5 separate regions of the Homo sapiens genome follow, and all the other regions are linked to region 5. Evidence: promoter capture Hi-C in 16 types of primary human blood cells and fetal thymus (Javierre and others, 2016). All regions are on one chromosome and are shown on one strand. The core of a region is centred on a gene start or on the middle of the fragment in contact, and the rest is flanking DNA. Distances in the headings are between cores, read along the strand shown. Region 1 overlaps HNRNPA0 (heterogeneous nuclear ribonucleoprotein A0). Region 2 overlaps MATR3 (matrin 3). Region 3 holds the start of SNORA74D (small nucleolar RNA, H/ACA box 74D). Region 4 overlaps PAIP2 (poly(A) binding protein interacting protein 2). Region 5 holds the start of KDM3B (lysine demethylase 3B).

Region 1 (2,700 bases), core at 140-2,639, 600 kb before region 5:
CATTATTTATACCTTCCTAATATTAACAAATACTTAAAACATTACAGATGGCTAGCAGAATTCATCTCTCTCCTACTAGAGTTGAAGCAGCAGTGATTTAGAGAACTACCACATGGAAGCTCACCCAGCAAGTAAAGAGCAAAGCCTAAAGACCATGCATATCTCGGGTACTAAGATATAAAAGTATGCCTTTTGCTAGTCTGTCCCACCTCTTCATTAGGGGCCATATAGTAAAATTACTGTGTACCAGAGACTACAGTAAGCCCTTCTTTATATGCATTCTTTCACTGAATCTGCCCAACAATCCTATGTAGCAGGTATTACCATAGCCTATTTTTTTACAAATAAGGCAAGTGAGGCTCGGGCCAGTTTGTCCAAGGTCGCAGTGCTAGAAAGTGACTGTGTCAGGAACAGAATTTGGTCTATTGGATGCCCAAATTTACGTCCTTAAGGGCTATGAAATATTAAATCAGATACCCACTATGAAGCAAATTACATTTGCAACGTAAGCATCAAAGACAAAATACACCTTTGATTTCTAAAAAGTAATCAATTAAGGAGAAAAGAGTCTTAATTTTCATCAGAGAATGTACATTCAATGACAATGGAGCTAACTCCAATTTTGATGGTGTGAACAATATGAGATTGTGACACAATGCTGTAAAGGAAAAGATGCATCATCTCAAAATAAATTGAATTCCCATTTCAAAATAAATTGAATTCCAACCAGAACGCAAGGTATATGAAGACAGCAACCATGTTTGTCTCACTGCTGTGTACCTCCACATTATAGAACTGTCTTACACAAAGGTGCCTAACACCCAATGAAATTGACGGTAAACACTGGGAAATAAGCACACTGTTTAAATGGCAAAAGTTTACACTTGAGAACTTTATAGCAGGAAATGATAGCTATTTCAGATAGATTTTTTAAGTAAACCATACAAAGTGGTAAAAGAATTAAAGAGACAAAGAAAGCCTGCCTGAATAGAGAAGGAAACAGTTAAGAATAACTACCAAAGGTGTCTTCCTGAATCCTTTCCCTCTCTGAAGGTTCAAATCATCTGGCTTCAAATCAAAGTAAAAAAAATAGGTGGAAAATAGAGAATTGCCCTTCTAGTCTTCCTACTTTGGAATTCCTTTTTAAATAGCAGCTTTCAAATATCTTTTTATAATAAATGTTTTACCTTGTAACATTTAAATTCTCATTCAAGGCAAATATGAAGTTCACTCAAAAGCAGGACAGCTAAGGAGTTATTTGACTAGGCAGTCTTTGTTGCTGTTTCAAAAGGCCAAAATAAGGCTGAGGAGGAAAATTTCCCCAATGATCACTCTTAAAGTGATTCAATAAATTGGTTACGATGGAGAAAGACACTTAGCCTAAGTGCAAGTGCTGTCTTTTTGGGTAAAATCCGTGTAGTCTAGATGCAGTTCTGCTCCAAATCCAACATCCAAATGCCTATCTGCAATCAGCAGACGCGGGCAGACAAAATTTAACCTAAAATGCAAACTCTCAAAACTTAAGCACACTTAAAAGGTAAACTAAGTTTACAAATCCAATAACTGATACCATCACTTCTGGTTTTGAAGGAAATCATAAATGCAAATTTCTCAAGTATCCTCAATCTTTTAGGTTTACTTAAAAATTATGAAAATTAGATTTGAATATGAAACGTTCCAAATCACTAAGTTAAAAATGGATGAATGGGTACAATCAGTATAGTCATTCTGATTTGATAGTTATCACTGTGAACCTTAACCACTTGCAGGCTTTTTTTTGGATACAGTAAATCAGTACCAATGAGAGCTTTTTAAATGACCTGAAAAACACTACAGATATTCCAATCAAAAAATCTAAAATGCTCCAAAATCCGAAATTTTTTGAGTGCAGACATGACATTCAAAGGAAATGCTCATTGAAGCAGTTTGGATTTTACATTTTTGTATGAGAGCTGCTCAGCTGGTAAACATAATGGAAATATTCAAAAATTGAAAAAAATCTAAAACTCAAAACACTTCTGGGCCCAAGAATTTCAGATAAGGAATACTCAACCTGTATCATCTCTAACAGCCTTTCAAACCACTTTCAACTAATGACTACTGAATTTATACTTTTAAAAGAATGTAAATGCCAAAGATCTTCACATTAAGATGAAAAATAGGAGGTTCACTTTTATTTTGCTAATCCGTCAAAATACATTCAAGCATGGCACAAAAATTATATTCAACACTAGGTTCTGTACCACCTGCTCCCATGAACTCTTAAATCTGAATAATGTTCAGATAATTTTCATAGGTGGAAGTGGTCAAAACATACAACCAATTGTCCCTCCTCCCCAAGTCCCACATGCCAAAATGTTTGCATATAAACTGACAAGAGGAACCCAGAAGTGACTAAATACCACTATGCTTTTTTCTTCACTACAAATAGCAATTTTAAGGGTAGACACATGACAATGAAGTGTTAATATACCATGAACAGAACAGGTTGCCTTCCTAATACACAGAAAATCCTTTTACATAATTCATTTGCAAACTTTAGAAGCCACTATATTCCCATGTTGGGAATAATATGACAACCTTATTAAACTGAAAACCCTGAGAAAGGTGTACTATTCCAATTGACCCAGATCTTCCCACCAAAACTGAGTAAGTCAAGCAGAGTAGTATTTAACAATTACAACGAAAAATTTCAGAGAA
Region 2 (2,700 bases), core at 70-2,569, 970 kb after region 5:
GGTGTGATCTCAGCTAACTGCAACCTCCACCTCCCAGGTTCAAGTTCTGCTGCCTCAGCCTCCCAAGTAGCTGGGATTACAGGTGTCCACCACCACACGAGGCTAATTCTTGTATTTTTAGTAGAAACGAGGTTTCGCCATGTTGGCCTGGCTGGTATTGAACTCCTGAGATCTCAGGGTGATCCGCCCACCTCAGCCTCCCAAAGTGCTGGAATTACAGGTGTGAGCCACCATGCCTGGCCCAGAGCTTGGTTTTTTAGCCATTACACTGTTTGAGTATTTGCTCTAAAGAGTAGGTATTTGCAGTATACTGTCTTACAAAGGATATTGCTCAACTTTTACCAAATCAAGTTTTTTACACATTGCCTAGCAGCATTGTAGTCTCAGAAAAGATAAAATATGAATATTCCTATCTCATTTAACTTCTGCTCTTTGTGTGAGGCAGACCTTCCATTTTTTAGTTTTAAAATAAGCTAAATTATTTTTCAAATTATCAGTAATTTTTTGGAAGAAAGGAAGAAGTTACTATTTTGAGCCAATGAATAAAGACAAAGACGCGGCCGGGCACGGTGGCTCACGCCTGTAATCCTAGCACTTTGGGAGGCCGAGGTGGGTGGATCACGAGGTCAGGAGATCGAGACCATCCTGGCTAACACAGTGAAACCCCGTCTCTACTAAAATTACAAAAAAAATTAGCCGGGCGTGGTGGCGTGCGCCTGTAGTCCCAGCTACTCGGGAGGCTGAGGCAGGAGAATGGCGTGAACCAGGGAGGCGGAGGTTGCAGTGAGCCGAGATCGCGCCACTGCACCCCAGCCTGGTCGACAGAGCAAGACTCCGTCTCAAAAAAAAAAAGGCAAAGACGCTATCCGTTTCCCTTCAAGTAAAGCAGACAGAAGGGATGCTGCAGGATAATTGTTGCAGAGTAAATTTGTCTTTCTTAACAGCGTCGTTTTCCAGGGAGTATGGAAGGTTTTGTCACTCTAGATGAGGTTGGTGATGAGGAAGATTCGGAACTTCAGAAACTTCGTAAATCGGGCATGGCATTTAAATCTGGTGACAAAAATGATGATGGTTTGGTTGAAATTAAGGTGGACAAGATCGAGGAACTTGATCAAGAAAACGAAGCAGCGTTGGAAAATGGAATTAAAAATGAGGAAAACACAGAACCAGGTGCTGAATCTTCTGAGAACGCTGATGATCCCAACAAAGATACAAGTGAAAACGCAGATGGTCAAAGTGATGAGAACAAGGACGACTATACAATCCCAGATGAGTATAGAATTGGACCATATCAGCCCAATGTTCCTGTTGGTGAGATTTAAGTCTTTGTTCTTCACCTTCCTCACTCTCCTCAAAACAAACTCTTAGGTTTTAAAATAAGATTTTAAAGTTGGTCTTACATAAGCTGTGATAGCATTTTAAATTTGCTTTGTTTCTATGGGGAACAATTTATAAATCTTAATTGATATATTTTCCTCTCATGCATGTCTCTGATTTTGTATTATTTTCTGTTGTTATTCCACAATGTGTTCCCTTTTTTCGTAAAATTTCTTGCAAGTTACACGCTTTTGTTTTGCTTTTCTGTGTTGTTTTTCTGTATTATATTTCTTTTTTTAAGAATACAGTTAGGTGAGACCTCAAACATCAATTAGGTAAAAGCAAAATATGGTTCGGTTTTTGTTTTTTATCTTAGGCTGTATTGGACTTCTCAAAAACATGTTGTTTCATTTAAATTATGTTGACAGGTGAAATTGTGAATACTAAATAAAATCTTCAGTTTAATTTGTAAGAATGTATGTTTGTATTTCTAGGTATAGACTATGTGATACCTAAAACAGGGTTTTACTGTAAGCTGTGTTCACTCTTTTATACAAATGAAGAAGTTGCAAAGAATACTCATTGCAGCAGCCTTCCTCATTATCAGAAATTAAAGGTAAGGTTGAATGTAAAACAGTTCTTTTGTGAAAACTTAACAAGTTATGGAAATAAGTGGGGTATATAAGTAAAATGTGTATAGTGTTCTCTCTAGACTCAGTGCAGTGCTTTCTCCTGAAGATAACTTTTTATTTACTTTTTTTTTTTTTTTTAAAGACAGTTTCTCTCTTGTTGCCCAGGTTGGATTGCAATGGTGCAATCTTGGCTCACTGCAACCTCTACCTCCTGGGTTCAAGCAATTTTCCTGCCTCAGCCTCCCAAGTAGCTGAGATTACAGGCATGCACCACCACACCCAGCTAATTTTTGTATTTTTAGTAGAAATGGGGTTTCACCATGTTGGCTAGCCTGGCTGGTCTTGAACTCCTGACCTCAGGTGATCCACCCACCTCAGCCTCCCAAAGTGCTGGGATTACAGGCATGAGCCACCGCGCCTGGCCTTTTCTTTCTTTATTGATGGGTTATCAAAACATCTGTTGAACCTCTTGTCATAGTTTACCCTTGCTACATAACAATTTAGTGTTTTCTAACCATATTATAAATTCTGTGGTAGAATTAAACTTATTCAAGTATTCTCAGATTGTTGTTGGGCTGTACTTTCTCTAATTTGAAAGATGCTGGGAGTCTGAATACTAAAAGTGGCATGACCATTCATATTAAAATAATTTTTAATATTGACATTATTATTGACACTTCAGTTATTTTTATGACCAAAAGTATATAAAGATCAAAAGCATAAATACATAAACCACAACATCACTAAAGAA
Region 3 (2,700 bases), core at 73-2,572, 920 kb after region 5:
ATCCCCATTCAGCTTGGTGTGCTCGCTCACGCCTGTAGTCCCAGCTACTCAGGAGGCTGAGGTAGGAGAATCACTTGAGCCCAGGAAGTGGAGGCTGCAGTGAGCCATGATTGTGCCACTGCACTCCAGCCTGGGTGGCAGAGAAAGACCCTGTAATATAATACCTCCATTCTACAAATGAGACTGAGGTATAGAGAGGTTTCTCGCCCAGTATCATTTGGCTAGACACTGGTTAGGGGATAGAGCCAGGCTCCCTGATATTTGTTTAATCGACTCTTTTGCTACTATTGAACTGCTGTGGTGTATAAGTAACAAGAGATGAAAACAAAGCTAAACAAGGATAAGCTATTGGTTTTATTGTCTGCTATTGTTTCTGTGGCTTAGGCCTAAGTTACCGTGTTTTGAGGGGAGGGACTCTGAGCTGCACACGTGTTCACTGTTGGCTGACTAACCTGGAGTTGTTTCATTGCAGAGAGGCTGGCTGTGGCAGATGCAACTGCAGGTGAGTGCAACCCCTTCAGCTCTCTTGGCTCCAGCTGTAGGCAGCTGCCTAGGTTGTCTTGTACCTAGGCAAGTGTTACACTGCTGGGAGAACAGCAGCCAATAGCTGGTTGGCATTCTGGCCCTGGTTCATGCCAACTCTTGTGTTGACTACCCCAGGATGCCAGCATAGTTGCTTATCCATTAAGGCAGGCGTGTTTTTTGGCTTCCCTGGGCCACATTGGAAGGATAAGAATTGTCTTGGGCCATACATAAAATATAGTAACACTAACGATAACTGATAGCTAAATTTAAAAAAAAATTGCCAAAAATAACTCCTCATAATGTGTTAAGAAAGTTTACCAATTTGTGTTGGGCTGCGGGTTGGAAAAGCTTGCATTAAGGTTTAATCTGTGAGAGCATGACTTTTTGCAGAGAATAAGTCCAGACCTTCCTGAATAGTTCTGGTCCAACAGGTTTGGGTAGCATGAAGTTACTTGAATCATACCTTGGAAACAGAACAAAGCTAATGGGAAGAGGGGGTTGGTAAAAATAGACGGAAAAGTCACACCTTTATTTTTAGTGCCTACCAAGGGCTCAAAGGGGGCCAGATACAATGGGATTTTTGCTAATTTCACTGAAATTAAAGTCCATGGCTCCTACTACCCACCATAAAAGCTAGTCATGACACCCTTTGTAGAGGGATGGATTCCCTATTAGGGAAACATTGATGGTAATTCACTTTAAAATTATGGGCATTCTCTAGCTGTTTAATAAAATATTAAAATATTGATTGAGGGGGCTCTGGGAACTGAACAACTACAACCACACTAATTTCTCCTTTGGGCTGACAGTATATTTGCTTTAGTTGCTTACTGATTTTCAGAAATGAACAGTTGTTGCCCCATTAAAGTGGTAGATATTGAGTTCCCTTTGTAGTAATTTTGTTTTGGAATGCTTTTTCCCAAGTAGTTGGGATGATAGGTGTGTGCCACCACAACCAGATAATTTTTTTTTTTTTAATTTGTAGAGACAAAGTCTCATTATGTTGCCCAGGCTTTAGTAGAGACAAGGTTTCACGACGTTGTCCAGGCTGGTCTCGAACTCCTGGGCTCAAGTGATCTCCTGCCTCTCAAAGTGCTGGGGTTACAGGCATGAGCCACTGCACCGTGCCTGGCCTGGAATGCTAATCTTTTGAGAAGAGATGACCCTCGGTTGCTGTGAAAAGTGACATACTAGTTTCCACAGGAGGAAATGGGGAGGATGTTGGGGGGCAGGGGAGTTGTTTATCAAAGCTTGTTTTGTTAGATCAGTTGGCATTCCCTTAATAGGATTCTCTCAACTAAATGTGAGTGCTTTGTGTGAATGCCTCAACTGTGAATAGCCTTTTACATATGGGGTCTTAAGGCTAGTGATATCTGTAGGGCTTGGGGGATGGTTAGCTTTATAGTACTATAGGCAGGGAAAAGGCAAATAATGGTAAATAAAATAATTCCTGAGGCTATAGAAATTGGGGTAAATGGCAAGCAGCATTCTATTTCCATCTCTCCAGATAAGGGTCCTTAGGAGCTGCTATTTTAGACCAGGGTGCCAAACATTCAAATTCATGGGAAATATATCATGTCTGCTCGTCTTTTTTTTTTTTTTTTTTTAATTGACAGTAATTGTATATGTTATATGGGGTACAACATGAGGTTTTCATACATGTTTACATTGTGGAATGAGTAAATCATGCTAGTTAACACATCTAGCACCTCACATACTTATATTTTGTTGTGGTGAAAACATTTAGTATCTTTTAGCAATTTTGAAATATACAGGCCAGGCACGGTGGCTCGCACCTGTATTCCCAGCACTTTGGGAGGCTGAGGTGGGAGGATCATTTGAACCCAGGAGTTTGAGACAAGCCTGGGCAACAGAAAGAGATCTCATCTCTATAAAAAACAAAAAAGAAATTAGGTGGGTGTGTTGGCATGCACCTGTAGTCCCAGCTGCTTGGGAGGCTAAGCTGGGAGGATCACTTGACCCAGGAGATTGAGACTACAGTGAACCATGGTCATGCCACTGCACTCAGTCTAGACAGAGTGAGACCCTATCTCAAAAAATATATATATATATATACACACACACACACAATGCATTGCTATTTATTATATTCTGTGTACTAGATCACTAAGTTTGCTTGTCTTCCTTTTTAGGATGACTTGAAAGTAGGGCATC
Region 4 (2,700 bases), core at 195-2,694, 990 kb after region 5:
CGACACCACACCTGGCTACTTTTGTTTTTGTATTTTTAATAGAGACGGGGTTTCACCGTGTTAGCCAGGATGGTCTCGATCTCCTGACCTCGTGATCCAACGGCCTTGGCCTCCCAAAGTGCTGGGATTACAGGTGTGAGCCACCGCGCCCAGCCCAGAGCCCATGTTTTTTAATCGTTACCTTACTGTGCCAAATAGTAAAACAAAAAATTCGGTGCTTTTCACAGACTTCAGAGTGGAAAACAGACCAATTGAAAAATGTTGCGATCCTCTTTAACTGCCAAAGGAAGTATGCTTAAACGTATATATGCGTAAAATACGATTAAAAAATATGCAAATAAGGTAAGGATCACAGTGGTTCAAAACAGAGTCCAAGGGAATGAGAAAAGATGGTGCCTATGGAGGTAGATTAATGAAAGAAACAGAAGAGAACTATGCTTGAATTTTTTTTTTTTTTTTTTTGAAACGGAGTCTTGCTCTGTTGCCCAGGCCTGAGTGCAGTGGCATGATCTCATTTCACTGCAAGCTCCACCTCCCGGGTTCATGCCATTCTCTTGCCTCAGCCTCCTGAGTAGCTGGGACTACAGACGCTTGCCACCATGCCTGGCTAATTTTTTGTATTTTTAGGAGAGATGGGGTTTCACCGTGTTAGCCAGGATGGTCTCAATCTCCTGACCTTGTGATCCGCCCACCTCGGCCTCCCAAAGTGCTGGGATTACAGGCGTGAGCCACCGCACCAGGCCTATATTTGAATTTTAATGAGAATTCTTAAAAGATGAAACTAGTGGAGAAAGATTGTAAAACCTAAAAGATTTCTGTATTTTAAAATTCCATAGACAATATAAAAGGACACTGCTGGAAACCAATATGTCTAAGAGGCATTTCAGGAGGGGAAAAACAGCTGAAGACACAATAAAGCCCTAAGTTGATAAATTGAAAGGGTTTGCTGACTTCCAGGCAGTAGTACTGGGAAAAAATTGCTCTTACCTATCCAAAATCTGGTGAAATATATGAATTTGTTAAAACATCTTAAGCTGTCGTCTAGAACAGGATTTTTAAATTTTTATTTATTTTTTTGAGACGGAGATTTGCTCTGTCACCAGGCCGGAGTGCAGTGGCGCAATCTTGGCTCACTGCAACCTCCGCCTCCCAGGTTCCAGTGATTCTCCTGCCTCAGCCTCCCCAGTAGCTGGGACTACAAGCATGTGCCACCACGCCCAGCTAATGTTTGTATTTTTAGAGACGGGGTTTCACCATGTTGGCCAGGATGGTCTCAATCTCTTGACCTCATGATCCACCCCCTTGGCCTCCCAAAGTGTTGGGATTACAGGCGTGAGCCACCGCACCTGGCCTATTTTTATTTTTTGAGATGCAGTCTCCCTCTGATGCTCAGGTTGGAATGCAGTGGCACCATCTCAGCTCACTGCAACCTCTGCCTCCCAGGTTCAAGCAATTCTCCTGCCTCAGCCTCCCGAGTAGCTGGGACTACAAGCGTGCACCTCCATGTCCAGCTAATTTTTGCATTTTTAGAGACGGGGTTTCGCCCAAGTTGGCCAGGATGGCCTCAATCTCTTGACCTCGTGATCCACCCCCTTTGGCCTCCCAAAGTGCTGGGCGTGAGCTGCTGCGCCCAGCTTATTTTTATTTTTTGAGATGCAGTCTCAGTCTGTTGCTCAGGCTGGAATGCACCATCTCAGCTCACTGCAACCTCTGCCTCCCAGGTTCAAGCAGTGCTCCTGCCTCAGGCTCCCGAGTAGCTGGGACTACAGCTGTGCGCCACCATGCCTGGCTTAGTTTTTGTATTACTAGAGATGGGGTTTCACCATGTTGGCCAGGGCCGGTCTCAAACTCCTCACCTCAAGTGATCCACCTCCCTTGGCCTCCTAAAGTGCTAGGATTATAGGTGTGAGCCACTGCACCCAGCCTAGAACAGGATTTTTAAAAGGAAAGAAAATTGATTTTCTACAACATTGAAAGTTGGAATTATTGACAATAGATTATCAACAGGAAGCACAGACATCTCAGAATTCTGTTACAACTAATTTTTTTTTTAGCACATTTACATGGAAATACTCATGTTACAACTTTTTTTTTTTTTTTTTTTTTTTAAGACACAGTTCCGCTCTGTCGCCCAGGCTGGAGTGCAGTGGCGCGATCTTGGCTCACTGCTACCTCCACCTCCCGAGTTCAAGCGATTCTCCTGCCTCAGCCTCCTGAGTAGCTGACACTACAGGCGCCCACCACCATGCCCGGCTAATTTTTGTATTTTTGGTAGAGGCAAGGTTTCACCATATTGGCCGGGCTTTTCTAGAACTCCTGACCTCAAATGATCCACCCACCTTGGCCTCCCAAAGTGGTGGGATTACAGGCCTGAGCCACCACGCCAGGCCATACAACATTTTTATTCAAACATGAAGGCAAAAGATGTTTTGTAGCATTAGGAGATACACCTAATGCTAAATGACGAGTTAATGGGTGCAGCACACCAGCATGGCACATGTATACATATGTAACTAACCTGCACATTGTGCACATGTACCCTAAAACTTAAAGTATAATAATAATTTTTAAAAAACTGTGGTACATCCATAAAAAAAAAAAAGATGTTTTGGACACTGGCTTAGAATGATAAATCCTCAGGTAGCCTTTTGAACTATTTTACAAAGATAGGAAGTTAGGGGAAGATGATGAATATAAGAA
Region 5 (2,700 bases), core at 169-2,668:
TAAGAGGTGGCTCTCAGCCCAGAAAAACATTCTGAGTCAGGCCTCAGGTTGGCTGTGGGAGATGGAAGTTAAAAAGAAGTGGAGGGAGGAATGTTTCCTTGGTGCTCCACAGGGTTGGTTCTAGAATGATTTTCCTATATGTTTTATACTTTAGTAAAAGTATAAAGTCAATAGTTGGTTACCCCTCTCCCCAAGCCTTTGTTACAAGAAAAGTAGGTCAAGGGTGTAGACAAGGTTATGGACAGGAGATAGCTGGGGTAGGCACAGAAGCCTTGGAGAAAGAACCAGCTACCACTATTTCCTGTCTGTAGGGAAAATCAAAAAGTCACTTTTAGAACAACAGTCATGGGTTATTACTATACCCTTTATCTTTTGTATCCATTTTGTGTATACTCAGTCTCTGCATCCATGAGACCATGGAATGTGCTAGTCCCTGATATTGCCAGCTTTAAATGATTGAGGCAATTTCCTGTTGCTTATTGTGGGTAACAATCTAGCCAAAAATCTCAGCATCTCACTTTCTCTGCAGGCTCCTTTTCTAATCAGGAGCTATCAGTCTCCCACACCTGTATTAAATGCATTCAGATAAGAGTTACAGAATTTTCTTTGCCCCCAGCCCCACTAATTCCATGGTAAGATGGAGTGCTACTAAGAGAACCCCTTTACTGTTGGTCTATTTCCAGTTCCCCTAAGAGTTGAATGGAGAAACACGTAGACTTAATAACATTGGCAGACTAGGAAGGGGAAGAAGTTAGGTCGGTTTTAGGAAAAACACCAAGATGTTGGGGGGCACGTTGGCCTTCAGTCAGTGGAAAGAGTGGCATTATACATCCAATGGAAGTAATACATTGGCCAATTGGAAAGGAACCTAAGAAGTGCTGGCAGTATAGAATGGGATGGTGCTGTTATGGGCCATTGAGAAGGAAGACATTGTGTCTCATGGACCAATGGGGAGAACATTTCCTACAAGACAGCAGGTAGGAGCTCATATTTTCAGGATAGGAAATCAATGGGGGTATTGGAGACACTAAATAGCTCAAAACATCCACTCTCTAGGTACCTTGCCCCTCACCCCCTTACCCCGTAAATGTCTTTGGTATCCGAGGAGAGCAAGCTAAAGCCCTCTCATATATACGACTCCCTGAAGGAAGATTGAGACCAGGGATGATGCCATGGGGAAGCTGAAGGACCCGCCCACTTCCCTACCCCGGCCGGACCTGCAATTCCCCTCCAGACCGCAGGGGGCACTGCAGGCCCCGGGGAGATTGGGGCGGAGCGCTGCGAGGGGCCAGGAGCTGTCGCCCCGCTCCAGAGCGCGGGGGGCGCTGTGCGGGGCCCAGGCTGCGGCTCCGCTCCCGGCCACGGGGGGCGCTGCGCTGCGCCGGTGGTTGGTGGTGGCTGTTGGGGGGGGTGGGGGGGAACGGCGGCCGCGGGTGGTGCGGAGGGAGGCCTTGCGGGCGGATCGGGCGCTTGGCGGCGGAGGTGGTGGGAGGCGGCGGGCGGGAGCGCGGGTCAGGCCGGCCCCGGCGATGGCGGACGCGGCGGCCTCCCCGGTGGGCAAGCGGCTGCTGCTGCTGTTCGCGGACACTGCGGCCTCAGCCTCGGCCTCGGCTCCCGCGGCGGCAGCGGCGAGCGGAGATCCGGGGCCTGCGCTGCGCACTCGAGCCTGGCGGGCCGGCACGGTGCGGGCCATGAGCGGGGCGGTGCCCCAGGACCTAGCGGTGAGTGGCGGCCGAGTCGGGCACTCGAGGCCGGGGCTGCGGGGCCTGCGGGCGGCCTCCCCGGGGGCCTTTGTGAGGGGGCGGTGGGATGGGGGTGACCCATTTCCGTGCCCCCGGGTCTCCTTAGCGCCCCCCGCCGGCACCTCCGCACCCCGAGCGCTTGCCGGCATGGCTTCCGCGTCGGGGTGTGCGCCCCGGTTTCCCCCGGGGGGCGGCCAGGGCGTCCGGAGCTGCTGCTTGCAGCCAGCAGGCCCCGCCTCCTGGGCGACCCTTTTCTCGGCGTTCCCCCCAACACGCCTTCGGAGCAGGCTCTCGAATCTTGAGCTCCCGGGAGCCTCAGAGTTCGGCCAGTGTTGCCGCTGCCCTCTCGAAGACGCGGACCTGTGGTCCCCAGCCTCTCCCAGGAGACCTGCGCCCTGTTCCTTTTCTCCCAGAGCCCCAAGTGGGGCGGGAATGTGGGCAGTTATGGGAGGCACGGAGGCTGCAGTTGGAGCTGGTCGGGGCTTTTTTATCTGGCAGTTACTTCCTCATCTGAGCTGGGCTCGGCCTGGCGGTCTCCAGAAAGGCCAGCTCTCGGCACTGTCTCGAGCTCTCCTCTCCTTTCCTTAACGCTTCTGGGTGACAGGAGCTGCAGTTGTGGCTGTTTTTGTTAAGTTTGAGATCTTTCTTAGTGGCCGAACGGGGCTGCTGGGTAGTGCTTTTTGCTCCCAGCTCAGCTACTCCCCCAACCTTGGGAGAGGTTTTGTTTTGAAACTTTGTGTTTGGGCTTGGCCCTTTTTGAATGCCTTGGTGTGTTTTGTGATTAAAGTTGTTCAGTCATACAACTTAACTAGCATTCGGGATCATGATGTGTTATTCTCGTTAATGTGGCGGTAAAATATAGTGTTTGAGTTTTGGCAAGCCACTTTATTTCCTCATTTTGATAGGGGCCCTAGCTTCTCTGGTGAGATAAGGCTATGAAAAATGGTGTGTGTGCGTG

The links. The method cuts DNA at HindIII sites, captures the fragments that hold promoters and counts their contacts. A CHiCAGO score of 5 or more calls a contact.
Region 1: a contact is called between a fragment that was not itself captured here and the fragment with the promoter of KDM3B in region 5, in 1 of 17 cell types (neutrophils). The highest score is 5.5, in neutrophils.
Region 2: a contact is called between a fragment that was not itself captured here and the fragment with the promoter of KDM3B in region 5, in 1 of 17 cell types (monocytes). The highest score is 5.3, in monocytes.
Region 3: a contact is called between a fragment that was not itself captured here and the fragment with the promoter of KDM3B in region 5, in 4 of 17 cell types (naive CD8 T cells, fetal thymus, total CD8 T cells and 1 more). The highest score is 7.1, in naive CD8 T cells.
Region 4: a fragment that was not itself captured here is called in contact with the fragment with the promoter of KDM3B in region 5 in 2 of 17 cell types (monocytes and naive CD4 T cells); the score reaches 7.0 in monocytes.

Annotation. Positions count from the first base shown.
Region 1 is chr5:137,748,287-137,750,986 of GRCh38, forward strand. It overlaps HNRNPA0 (heterogeneous nuclear ribonucleoprotein A0), which reads right to left. Exons shown (of 1, transcript NM_006805.4): 1 at 1-2,700. Among named protein-coding and RNA genes, the nearest start is that of HNRNPA0, 4.7 kb to the right of the region's middle. The HindIII fragment of the contact is 3,508 bases long and covers 1-2,700 here.
Region 2 is chr5:139,324,352-139,327,051 of GRCh38, forward strand. It overlaps MATR3 (matrin 3), which reads left to right. Exons shown (of 15, transcript NM_018834.6): 13 at 1,089-1,311; 14 at 1,812-1,933. Among named protein-coding and RNA genes, the nearest start is that of PAIP2, 16 kb to the right of the region's middle. The HindIII fragment of the contact is 5,429 bases long and covers 1-2,700 here.
Region 3 is chr5:139,275,649-139,278,348 of GRCh38, forward strand. SNHG4 (small nucleolar RNA host gene 4) reads left to right here. Exons shown (of 7, transcript NR_182757.1): 3 at 473-502; 4 at 2,679-2,700. It overlaps SNORA74D (small nucleolar RNA, H/ACA box 74D), which reads left to right and starts at 532; the gene lies at 532-675. All of the region lies in intron 3 of LOC124901081 (a long non-coding RNA gene), which reads right to left. It also overlaps a transcript of MATR3 not described here. The HindIII fragment of the contact is 902 bases long and covers 872-1,773 here.
Region 4 is chr5:139,345,184-139,347,883 of GRCh38, forward strand. All of the region lies in intron 1 of PAIP2 (poly(A) binding protein interacting protein 2), which reads left to right. Among named protein-coding and RNA genes, the nearest start is that of PAIP2, 4.7 kb to the left of the region's middle. The HindIII fragment of the contact is 8,536 bases long and covers 1-2,700 here.
Region 5 is chr5:138,351,267-138,353,966 of GRCh38, forward strand. It overlaps KDM3B (lysine demethylase 3B), which reads left to right and starts at 1,419. Exons shown (of 24, transcript NM_016604.4): 1 at 1,419-1,721. The coding sequence starts at 1,530. RefSeq lists silencers at 1,119-1,198, 1,219-1,458, 1,539-2,008 and an enhancer at 2,259-2,358. The HindIII fragment of the contact is 3,421 bases long and covers 1-2,700 here.